Regions from separate parts of the Homo sapiens genome. Here region 2 is linked to region 1. The links are contacts of gene promoters, found by promoter capture Hi-C in human tissues and cell types (Jung and others, 2019). All regions are on one chromosome and are shown on one strand. The core of a region is centred on a gene start or on the middle of the fragment in contact, and the rest is flanking DNA. Distances in the headings are between cores, read along the strand shown.

Region 1 (5,514 bases), core at 45-2,544:
AAAGAAAGTTTAATCAGTATTGACAAAAAAGGGGGAACATGTTCCAGGACTATTTGTGTTATTGAAAGCAAGGAATATAGTGATTGAATTAAAAGGGGAGAAATAAAAGCAGATATTGCATTGCTTCCCAGTGGAAATACTGTTTGAATCATGTGGTAGGCTGATCGGACTCTATTCTGGGGTTTCAGTTTTCTGGACGTGTTTCTTTTTCGTATCCTAGGCTGATTCATGATAGTTTTGAATGATAGTTATTTTTCAATTTTTCCTTTGATCCCCGAAGACTCTTATTTGTGTCAATCTTTATTTAGCCTGGCCATCAATTAGTGTAAAACAAGGGGAGATGATGTGGATTCAATAAGGTAAGAAACTGACTAGCCAGCGTCACACACAAAGTTATCAAACCTGGTTCTTAGAATCCACGTTCTCATGTCTGGCTCTTTGTTCAAAGGGAAAAAAAAATCAATAGGATGGCTGGAGGGAGACATTTCCCTATCCTCATTGAAGACTGATGAGCTGTCAGTCTATTACGTGGTATCCTGTTGAGGAACATGTGAACAATTGGAAGAGTTTATCTGATGACTGACCAGTTGTGAAATTTAGCACCCATTAATTGATTCTTAATGTGAGAGGATTAACTTGGGAATTGTGAGTTTCTACGTGTGGAAAGGAAAACATATTCCCTTTACTCAGTTACTGTGCAAAAATCAATAACCCCAATTTGCATGTAAGTAAGAAACAATATGTCCCTTGCTCAAAAAAATTAACATCCTTCTAGCTCTTCCTTTCTTCTCCTTACAACTTTGATATACTTCTTCGTGTGTGTGTGTGTGTGTGTGTGTGTGTGTGTGTGTGTGTGTGTGTGAATAGCCTTCCTAAAGGCCTGGGCTTTTTCTAAATGTATGCCTTTAATTTTTATCCAAAAACTTCTCTTACAGCAACATGTCTTGTCTATTCTATTCCAGCACAAGGCAGATGCACAGCAAATGTGAGCTGACTCTAGTCCTTCTTCTGAAAACAGCCATGGGAAATTTAGGCAAAGAATGTGTTGTCTTTGCTAATACTGCTCTTTAAGCCCCAGACATAGCTAAACTCTTAGCTAATTACCCCCTGGGTCCCAGGCTTTCACTGGGGCCTTTTAAAATACACAAAACCAAAGTGACGGCAGGAGGCCATTAGCACTACATAATTCAAGCAAACAATAAATGTGTTTATTCTGCCTGGCTACTGACCACCTGCCTTCCCATCCCGCCAGGCAGGTATCTATATATACGATTTCCTTTTTCCCAGTCCTGCAGAGAATGAGCCTCTCCTTTGGGCCTCATCATTTACAAAAGAAGCTTGGGCCCCTGACAGCATGCATCTCCTCTTATTTCAGCTGCTGGTACTCCTGCCTCTAGGAAAGACCACACGGCACCAGGATGGCCGCCAGAATCAGAGTTCTCTTTCCCCCGTACTCCTGCCAAGGAATCAAAGAGAGCTTCCCACAGGCAACCATGAGGAAGCTGAGGAGAAGCCAGATCTGTTTGTCGCAGTGCCACACCTTGTAGCCACCAGCCCTGCAGGGGAAGGCCAGAGGCAGAGAGAGAAGATGCTGTCCAGATTTGGCAGGTTCTGGAAGAAGCCTGAGAGAGAAATGCATCCATCCAGGGACTCAGATAGTGAGCCCTTCCCACCTGGGACCCAGTCCCTCATCCAGCCGATAGATGGAATGAAAATGGAGAAATCTCCTCTTCGGGAAGAAGCCAAGAAATTCTGGCACCACTTCATGTTCAGAAAAACTCCGGCTTCTCAGGGGGTCATCTTGCCCATCAAAAGCCATGAAGTACATTGGGAGACCTGCAGGACAGTGCCCTTCAGCCAGGTATGTGTTCTGGGGGGAGAGCAGGTAAGAGTTTGCAGGTGGTAGTGGACAGCTGGGATGGATGGAGAGTAGGGGAAAAGGCTGTCAGGAGCCTGACTCTAGCTTAACTACAGATTTGGTCCTTGGGCATTCATCATAGGATTTGGCAAAGATTAAGTTTCCTTCTGGCCTTTCCATTTTTTCTTGGCATTGTGGAAATGCTGCAAGAATGATATGATGATACTGTCAATATCAGTAATCATTCATTCACACTGAAGACACAGAGCTCTGTTTTATTTATTTATTTTTGCATTGGAGGTGATCTACTCAGAGATATAAGTCAGACTGTACCCTCAGTTAGGAAACTGAGAATTTAGAGTAATCACCAGAACTCCTCTGTAGCTATCTTTCTGCACTCTATTAATATGTGGATGAGCAGGTCAACTCCATTTGTTGATAAAGTGGGGTGCATTGGACTCCTTCCCAAATACTCTCATATCCATTTACGATGGTCTTAATCCCCATAGTCCATACTTAATTACTTTATAGGTTTATGAGGGACTTCTTTAATAGCTTGCTAAAGCTATCCCACAACCTCAAAGTACGTTGAGGTTCTCAGGCAAAAGTTGTCATATCATTTCTAGTATTATGATAGCAAAAAAGTGATTTTCTTTCACTTATTTTCTCATATGAGCTTTTTAAAAAATCAATCTTGATGTGAGATCATATCTCCTCCCCTTAGAAGTACCTTTCTCCTGATTCATGTTGTGTTGGCTGATTTGTAGTTATTATGATCAATTCCATGCTATTAAGACAAAGGGACATCCTACTGTCTACTTCCTCTGGCAATATCTACATTCCAAATGTTAAATTAAAATTGAGAACTTGCATTAGGTCCTTAAACATGAAGATATTGAACCAAAAACATGCAGGGTAGAGTAAAATTTTATAGTCGAGTAATGCTACCCAATTAAGCAAGCAATAGAATAGGGCAATTGACTGTTCAAGGCAGTTAAGTATTCTGCCTGAAAAGGCAAGGATATGTAGCAATGGCAAGTCAATTATCAAATAATAATGACTACTCTGTTGGCCATGTGCAATTAGAAAATTACCCCTAAGAATCAGGCAATCAAATTTCTTTTGAAATTCTTCTTTTGAATTCTATTGCTAATTAAATTAAAACTAAGATGTTTGACTCTTACATATTTTGAAAGGCATATAAAGCTAGGTGCTTGGAGTTATGAGAGGTAAAGGTGATGTAATATACAATGATTTGCAGGCATATGCATTGTAACTCTGCTTGCATACAACTTCATAGACTTGAATGTACTACAGGTCTTGCAGAATAGGATAGAATTAAACCTAGAATGTTCTGATCTATTCTACGATCAATGTAACAAATATGTATTGGGAGCCTACTATGCACAAAGCCCTGTGAGGAATAAAAAAGTAAGGCACATTACTTATGTAAGATAATTACCATTAGAATTTTTCAATCGCTCACATCCAATTAGACAAAATTGCTTAAGGTTTTGCACGAATAATGTAGAGTAAAATATTTTTTATGTTAACTTAGGGATTCCCTAAAGGCTGTTTAATAATTTACTCAATAAAGAAAATTTAATTGAGGTGGTTCTGTGCCCTTATAGATACCATCACTTGCATATTGCAAATTGTATCCAAAATTGGAAAGCTTTGAAATTTTTAAATTATCCTCAGATTTACAGTCCATAGCTTCTGCATTATGTGTGTTAAAGAAATAATTCAAAATAACGTAATGGAAATGTGTTTGCTTTTTAGACTATAACCCACGAAGGCTGTGAAAAAGTAGTTGTTCAGAACAACCTTTGCTTTGGGAAATGCGGGTCTGTTCATTTTCCTGGAGCCGCGCAGCACTCCCATACCTCCTGCTCTCACTGTTTGCCTGCCAAGTTCACCACGATGCACTTGCCACTGAACTGCACTGAACTTTCCTCCGTGATCAAGGTGGTGATGCTGGTGGAGGAGTGCCAGTGCAAGGTGAAGACGGAGCATGAAGATGGACACATCCTACATGCTGGCTCCCAGGATTCCTTTATCCCAGGAGTTTCAGCTTGAAGAGCTATCCCACTATTACCTTTGAAAAGCAAAACCACAACAGCAAAGATGCTGATTATTCAGTCTGAAAATGTTAAGTGGGTACATAACATTTTCAGGGAAAGGTGACTTGAAACGTAGTTTTAAATTAGAACGATAGAGGAAATGATATTAGTCTAGTTATTGGTACACGTTTGAGACCTTGTCTCAGCTCTGCCACTAACTAGCCGTAGAATGTTAAGTTGTAAAACCTTTCTCCATCTAAAGATTTTCATCTATAAATGACGGACCCGACCTAGATGATTGCTAAAATCCTTTCCACTACTAATATTCCGTGATGCATTTTCTCCAAGTTTGGGTAAAAGCCCTCCATCTAAAGAAGGAAAAGAAATAAGCGAGACCATAAAAATGGGCTTCTTTAATGTGTGTCAAATCACCAGCAAGCAAAGAAGCAAGATAGAGAGGGAGGAAGGAAGGAAGGAAGGAAGGAAAGAAGGAAGGAAGGAAGGAAGGAAGGAAGGAAGGAAGGAAGGAAGGAAGGAAGGAAGGCAGGCAGGCAGGCAGGCAGGCAGGCAGGCAGGCACGCAGGCAGGCAGGGAGGCAGGCTACGTGAAATATTTGTAGGAAAGATTCTCATACTTATAGTTACTTTTGCAACCCAAACAGTGTTTTACTTGACTTCTATCTGATGATTAAGTCTTTCCACAGATGTAAGGAGTAACTTGCTTGGTTGCCTCCTTTTTAACAATACTCCTCATATAAAGTACTTAATGTCAGGTCTCTGACTTTGAAGAAGGAACAGTGATGTTAATTTTAGTAGTTTATATAGGGAAGAGGAACAATCACTGGTAGCCAAACAAGTACCTATATTATGAGGAAGGAAAAATACATGACTACTACCAGGTTTAGAGATCAATCCAGAGATGCTAATGAAAGTAACCCCCAAAAATTCAATCTTCAGGCAAAATTATTTACTCACATGCATTTTGAATTAGGTAGTAAGGTTTCTATGTTTGAATGACTGTTTTTTGCTATTTAATAAAACTTTGTATTATAAATTTTATTCAGCAAGTACCAAAATTACAGGTTCTGAAAATATTCTGGATATTTTAATGCATTAAATTTTAGTATATGAAGCATTCTGAAAAATGTTCTTATATTTTTCCCTTACTTGTTTTGTCTCATAATTTAAAGGTACTATCAGGAGATAACCTAGCTGGAAGCATTTCTGGAATGTCTTCATAGACTTATGACACTGGACCAAGGGTTTCTTCTGATCTGTAAGCAGCCTTCTGTTTAAGTCTCTCAATCACCTCTCTCCTGTCTGTGTTAATTTTTACACATATATGGTACAGAACTGCCTTTTCCCAGCCAGACTGCTTTTTCTATTAAGTTATTCAAATTTTTGTTCCTAAAAATTATTTTAATAATTAGGTTTCTTTTACTTTTAGTGCACACACATACACACATTTCCCAGAATAACTGTTTTTTTTAAATAAATCAATTTATATTTTAATTCTATTCCTCTTTAATCACACCATCTAACATGACATTCCAAAGAAGCAAAGGCATTTATATTTAGTGTATATTTTGTAACA
Region 2 (5,625 bases), core at 1,291-3,790, 240 kb after region 1:
ACATGGAGCTCAAGAACTCTGGAGGACAGAGCAAAACACACCTTGAGTTACCCCAACCATGAAGCTGGGATGCTAAGCTACATATATATATATATATATATATATATATATATATACACACACACACACACACACTCAGTTTTTGACTCTTTGTCCATCAAATTAGTTATCCATGAACCCAGCCATTGGATGAGAGCAACTTCTGGGGGAGTTTACAGCCTAGCGCTTCCTACTTGCTTTGCACACTGGTCTGTCATGCTCCCCAGTCTGGCAAAATCCTCAGGCAGTGAGTCATGGGGTTCACAGTAAATGTCCAAGGTGTTATAGGTAAGGCACCAACTGTGTCTGCTACTGTTTTTATTTTTTAGAACTTAATTTTAAAGCCTGGATCTGAAATTTTTCAACTTCTTTTGTTATGAAGTGATTTCCAGCAGGAGTGATGCAAAAGCTGAAAGGCTTCATACTACAGGAAGAGGATATGGTTAAAGGCACCAGGATGTCTACAAAACAGATTTATTTCCATCTCAGCAGGAGGCAGCCATGTTTCTCTAAGTGTTGATTAAACTGTTCCTCCATGGTGGCTCCCTTGTTTGTCTCATTCATGTTGTTCTCATTTACCTCCTTTTGCTTTGGGAATTTGCCAGCGTGGAACTTGTTTCAACGGCTACATTGATTAGGTACAAGCTTATGTTAAGCTGGAAGCCAATAAACGTTTGGCTAGAGAACTTGTGGGGCTCATTAACCCAAGACAAGGTTTTGGGATGAAAATACAAATAGACCCAGGAAGGCTATGATGAGTGTATAAACACTAGACACATAATGGACTGTCCTTCTCAGTCAGGGGCACTTCACTTAACTTTTGAGATTAGCATCAAGGAAATCTCTCAAGTTCTTTCACATAGAGTCTCTTGAGGGGAGTCTGAATATGTGGGTCTGATGTCATTGGCAAATCTTATGCTTGCTTTGAGCTTTTGACTGGGTCAAGAAGCAGCATGGTACAGCTAAAAAGCTCAGGCCTAGGAGTCAAGAAGTGTTAGATTCAAATTCTGGGCAAGGTAATTGCCCTATGACCTGGTCAAGGTACTGAAACTCTCATTTTCCCAAAAAATCTGGGCAATAATTTCTACATCTCAAATTATGGGGAGATGAAATAAAGACCCCATATCTGAAAAATTGAAGAGGGCCTGACTTATAAAATATGCTCCAAGGAAGTTAGTTCCCTCCCTACACCTTTGATTATCTCTGCAATTAAAAAAAACAAAAAACAAAACAAAACAAAAAAAAACCTTTCTGTCTCTTTCCCTTCCTCCCTCCCTCCCTGCCTCCTTCTCCTTCTTCCTTCCTTCCTGTCTTCTTTCTTTTTTTCCAACCAGGGATTTTCAGTATATTCACAAGGTTGTGCAACCCATCACTGCTATCTAATTTCAGATCTCTTTTTCTTTTGATTTGTTGGAAATGGGTTTTGTTGGTTTGTTTGTTTCCCGTAGTGTTTACAAAGAGCTGTAAGAGAACCTTCTTTATTAACAAAGCCTTACATTTGAAACCCAATTTGTGCTACAGACTGCCTTAATATGTGTGAATGCACATGATCTTTACTTGGAAGGTATGCGAAGCCTTTGTAATACCCAATTTACAAATGAAGAAAGTGAGACATGACAGTTGACCTAAGGACAAAACATGAGTGAGGGGCAGTATCTGAGCCAGATCTCAGATCTCCTGTTTCCATTCCCCAAATAGTACTCAGTGGTAACATCTTTACCCTAGAAACTTTGCCAACATGTGCAAGGAACTGTCCTGTGTATGAGGTAGGCTGTAGCTTCTAGCATTAAGCCTCAGGGCTGGGGACATGGACAGATTGTCAGAAGCAATGTGGCCAAAAGCTCCACCATACCCAAGCCTGTAGATTGAAGGATGGCCCTCTGTGAAACCCACAGCTGTTTCTCCGAAGAAGTTTCATTTGGAAGTCTGCTAGTATGGGTTTCAGTACCATGAGGGTGTTTCCCATATAAAGAAGAAGATGATGTCACTGCTACTTGCTGGTATCTACATGCACTCCCAGAGCCCCCTGCAATCCCCCACAAGGGTGCTTTTCTGTGCCTTTCCTCAGTGATTGTCTGTAAGATTAGCTTCCTACTAAAATTCTAACTAGACTTAGATTCTCTTTTATTCACTGGGTGAGGGACCTGGGATCTCTATTTAGTTTTATTTCCAATATTTTTTCCCTGTCATGTAGATTTGCAGTGGGTTTAGGTGGCAGTGTTTACAAATAATTTCTTGGTCTAATCCCAACTATTTAACATCTGCAAGGATGATGTAATATGCCAGCAACTGTTTAAAGTTGTTCTAAAAGGCTTTACAAATATCCTTTGTGAGTGTGCACCCTGGTGATGGGAATGAATACACATGCTATTTTGTGAGCAATTTGAGAGAGTCTATCAAAATTTTAAATATGCTTATGTCTTGACCATAATTCCACTTCTAGGGCTTTTCCTGCAGCAATCACTCATAGCAATGTGAAAATATGCATGTGCAAGGATATTCATTACATCATTATAAGAGTGAAAAATTGTAGAGAAATGCTAAATATATACTGATAGAGGGGATTCCTAAATATAATACACTATGGAGTAATACTCAGCCATTAAAAAGAGTAAGGTTGATTTAAGTTCCCTGAAATGTTATTCATGATATGCTGATGAGAGATTGAAAAAGCAAATTGCGTAATAATATGTATTATATTGTCCCATTTTGTAAAATATAACAATACCCAAGTGATTTCTATATAAATGTAATAAATTTTTCCCATTTTTATACAAGATCTCTTTAGGGTAGACTCTGTTAAATGGTGTTCTACTCAGTACTTTAATATGTTTGGAGATGCAGCTATTGCAGAAGGAAGTAAAGAAGTCTAACCTGTTCTGTATGTTTGAAGGAAGGAGATGACAGCAGAAAAGATAAGGAGAGGAGAGAGAGAGAAGGTGAGGGGCTAGCAGCATCTGAGGCAAAAGCAAGTGTAGCTCTCCCTGAAGCAAGATGGAGGAAAAGACTTAAGAAGTGAAGTCGTTAATGAGTGATTTTAAATAGCTTGCTGTGTGCTTCCTAGTAGGAAGTCTGGCCAATAATCCTCAAATCGTCACTAAAGTCACTAATGCTTTGTGTGAATATGTAGGTGTGTGTGCATGCCTAAATCCAGGAAGGGGCCAAGTTGACCATATAAGTCAACAATGCAGAACAGAGACAGCAGCCAGAGAATAGGGAGCCTTTCTTGGCTTTGGAAGCACATCAAATCTTTGAAAATATGTAGAAATCTTGAGGAGAACCTTAGATTTCCTCAGGGCATAGAATGGGGGGTGGGGTGGTTCAAGCTGTTCATCTAGATCTTATGGGTCTGGAAGACATCAGCCAACATCAGGATTACAAATACAGTAGAAGAACTATTTTTTGCCAAAATGCTTGCAATGTGGCTAGATTAACGAATCTAGATATTCTACCTACAAAAGAACCCAATGATAACAACAAAACAAAACCTTAATCCAATCTATACATCTTCTGAATACGTTCTCCACTTTCCATTATATGGATTATGAAGTAAGAATGGGATGTGTAATGTATTTGTATACTTTCATTTCAGTACTTTAAACTTTATTGCTTTTACAACATAGAAATAACTCTGAACCAGCCCAACTCATGCATTACCAGAACAGCCACCAACCTCACTTCGCAATATACCACCAAATGAATCTCCATGGCAACCAACCAGCACATCCCACCATATGCCACATACCATGAGGAATTACTCCTCAATTATTACTCGGCATGATAGTTTAAATGGATAAGCATTTCAAAAAAATCCTTTTAGGCCAATCTCATTATTTGGATGGTTCTGATATTGAGAAATCTGAATAGGTGACATTTTGTTATTTAGATATACATTCACTTATATATACCCAGAAAAAGATTTGGAATACCTACCGTCACTTCAGAGGGGGACTTTTAATTTTCACTTTATATATACTACTTTATTATTTTCTTTTTTTAATCATAGGCATATGTTATTTTGTAATCAAAGAAAGAAAATGCTGTCCCATACTTGGTAAGCAGTCACTTCTCCTAATGCCACACCTTTATGGAATGCTATCCCCTACACACTGCCTCAGGCAGAATGGAATGTCATATGGGGAACTGGTTGCAGCTAGATGCTATTATTTTAAGAAATTTTAAACATCCTCTGCCTTTTCATTGAACTCAAGATGAGCACTTAACAATTACAAGTATTCCTAGAAGCAAAGAAATCATATATATTCTGGTATTTATTTAAAGTACTAAGAGATTCAAATTCTTTATATAATAAGAAGTAGCTTTAGTCTTTATCAGCTCAAACATTATGAGCTATAATCCATGAAACATGCTATTTTTAACAAATATTTATTCTTCCTATCATTCTGAATGTGAAACATTTTCATTTCTTCTAAGAACATTCCAGGTTTAAGTCTGAGAAATGGTCCTGGTCTTTCAACAATTGAAGAGATTGTGGGCACCTATCTCACCCCAGGGTTTTAGTCTCAGAGATTACCGGGTTTTCTTGCTGTCTTTTGGTTGGTTGTTGGTTTTTTTATTTGAAAGCTTAACTTCTCAATGTTTGTACAGATGACTAAATTCCCTTGTAATGTTAATATTAAGAAAGAAGTCAGGAATTTTGCGTGATGATCTTACAAGGAGAAATAATCCTGAAGCAATAAAAAGCATCTAGAAAGTAGCCAAAGGACTATACAGAATAGTGTATGGGGATTTTATATCCTACCACATACTCTATTAATACAGCTTATTAATGGAAAGCATGAGAGGCTGACAAGTCAATCAAGGCCTGAGCATGAACACTGATCTGGCTCACATCACTGTCCAAGTTTGAGAAGGTGAGTCAAGATGCTTCAGTTGGGCATCATCTGTACTCCCCATTATCTGACAGGCACAAATAAATTAAAAATTGAGCTGTTTTTACATTTTTTTAGATAAACTAAAATTGAGTGTTTTTCCCATTTAATCTTCCCAGGTGAAAAAAAAAAAAAACAAAAAGCTTAGAAAAACTCTAGGAAATCGACCTTATCTTTGTCATTTGCAAATCAATCAGAAAAAAAAATATTTTTCCTTTTGAACTTCTAATATTTGGTTTAGGGAGTAGAGTTAGAATTCTCACAGATAGACTATTGATTTCACTTTTCTGTCTGTTTCAAATTTGCCTCCTATTGACATGTGGCATTGACTTATTGTTCTGACAAGTCCAGGAATGTATTTTCTGAGTTTGGATTTGTTAAGTCCAATTTTTTTATTGTCAAATTTATTTTTTATGGTCCAGGTCCTTTGGAACTCAGGGAGTTAGTGTGAGTAAAGTGGGGGAAGATCTACCAAATTGAATTCCTTTCCCCAGTGGTATTGTAGCTGAAGAAAAGGAGCCCGCTAATTATGTTATTTAGGCATGGAGATGGTAAAGGGGATGGTGAGGTAAAAACCATAAATTTTGTGAGAAATTGTATCATTTTGCCAAAAAAGAATGAGAAGAGGTCTTTGGAAAGCTCAGATGCTCCCTGCTTTGTGTGAATTTGACAGGTGGGTTGGTAGGTCCTGAAA

The links. Contacts are between HindIII fragments. The study calls those that stand out against the background at their distance.
Region 2: a contact is called between a fragment that was not itself captured here and the fragment with the promoter of CER1 in region 1, in 4 of the 25 tissues and cell types used here (IMR-90 fibroblasts, mesenchymal stem cells, mesendoderm cells and 1 more).

The regions. Positions count from the first base shown.
Region 1 is chr9:14,718,513-14,724,026 of GRCh38, reverse strand. CER1 (cerberus 1, DAN family BMP antagonist) reads left to right here and starts at 1,294. Exons shown (of 2, transcript NM_005454.3): 1 at 1,294-1,861; 2 at 3,641-4,303. The coding sequence starts at 1,355. The coding sequence ends at 3,937. RefSeq lists enhancers at 269-1,206, 1,207-2,146. The HindIII fragment of the contact is 6,126 bases long and covers 1-2,435 here.
Region 2 is chr9:14,475,689-14,481,313 of GRCh38, reverse strand. It overlaps LOC124902121 (a long non-coding RNA gene), which reads left to right. Exons shown (of 2, transcript XR_007061420.1): 2 at 369-580. It also overlaps a transcript of NFIB not described here. Among named protein-coding and RNA genes, the nearest start is that of TRH-GTG1-6, 44 kb to the right of the region's middle. The HindIII fragment of the contact is 4,618 bases long and covers 232-4,849 here.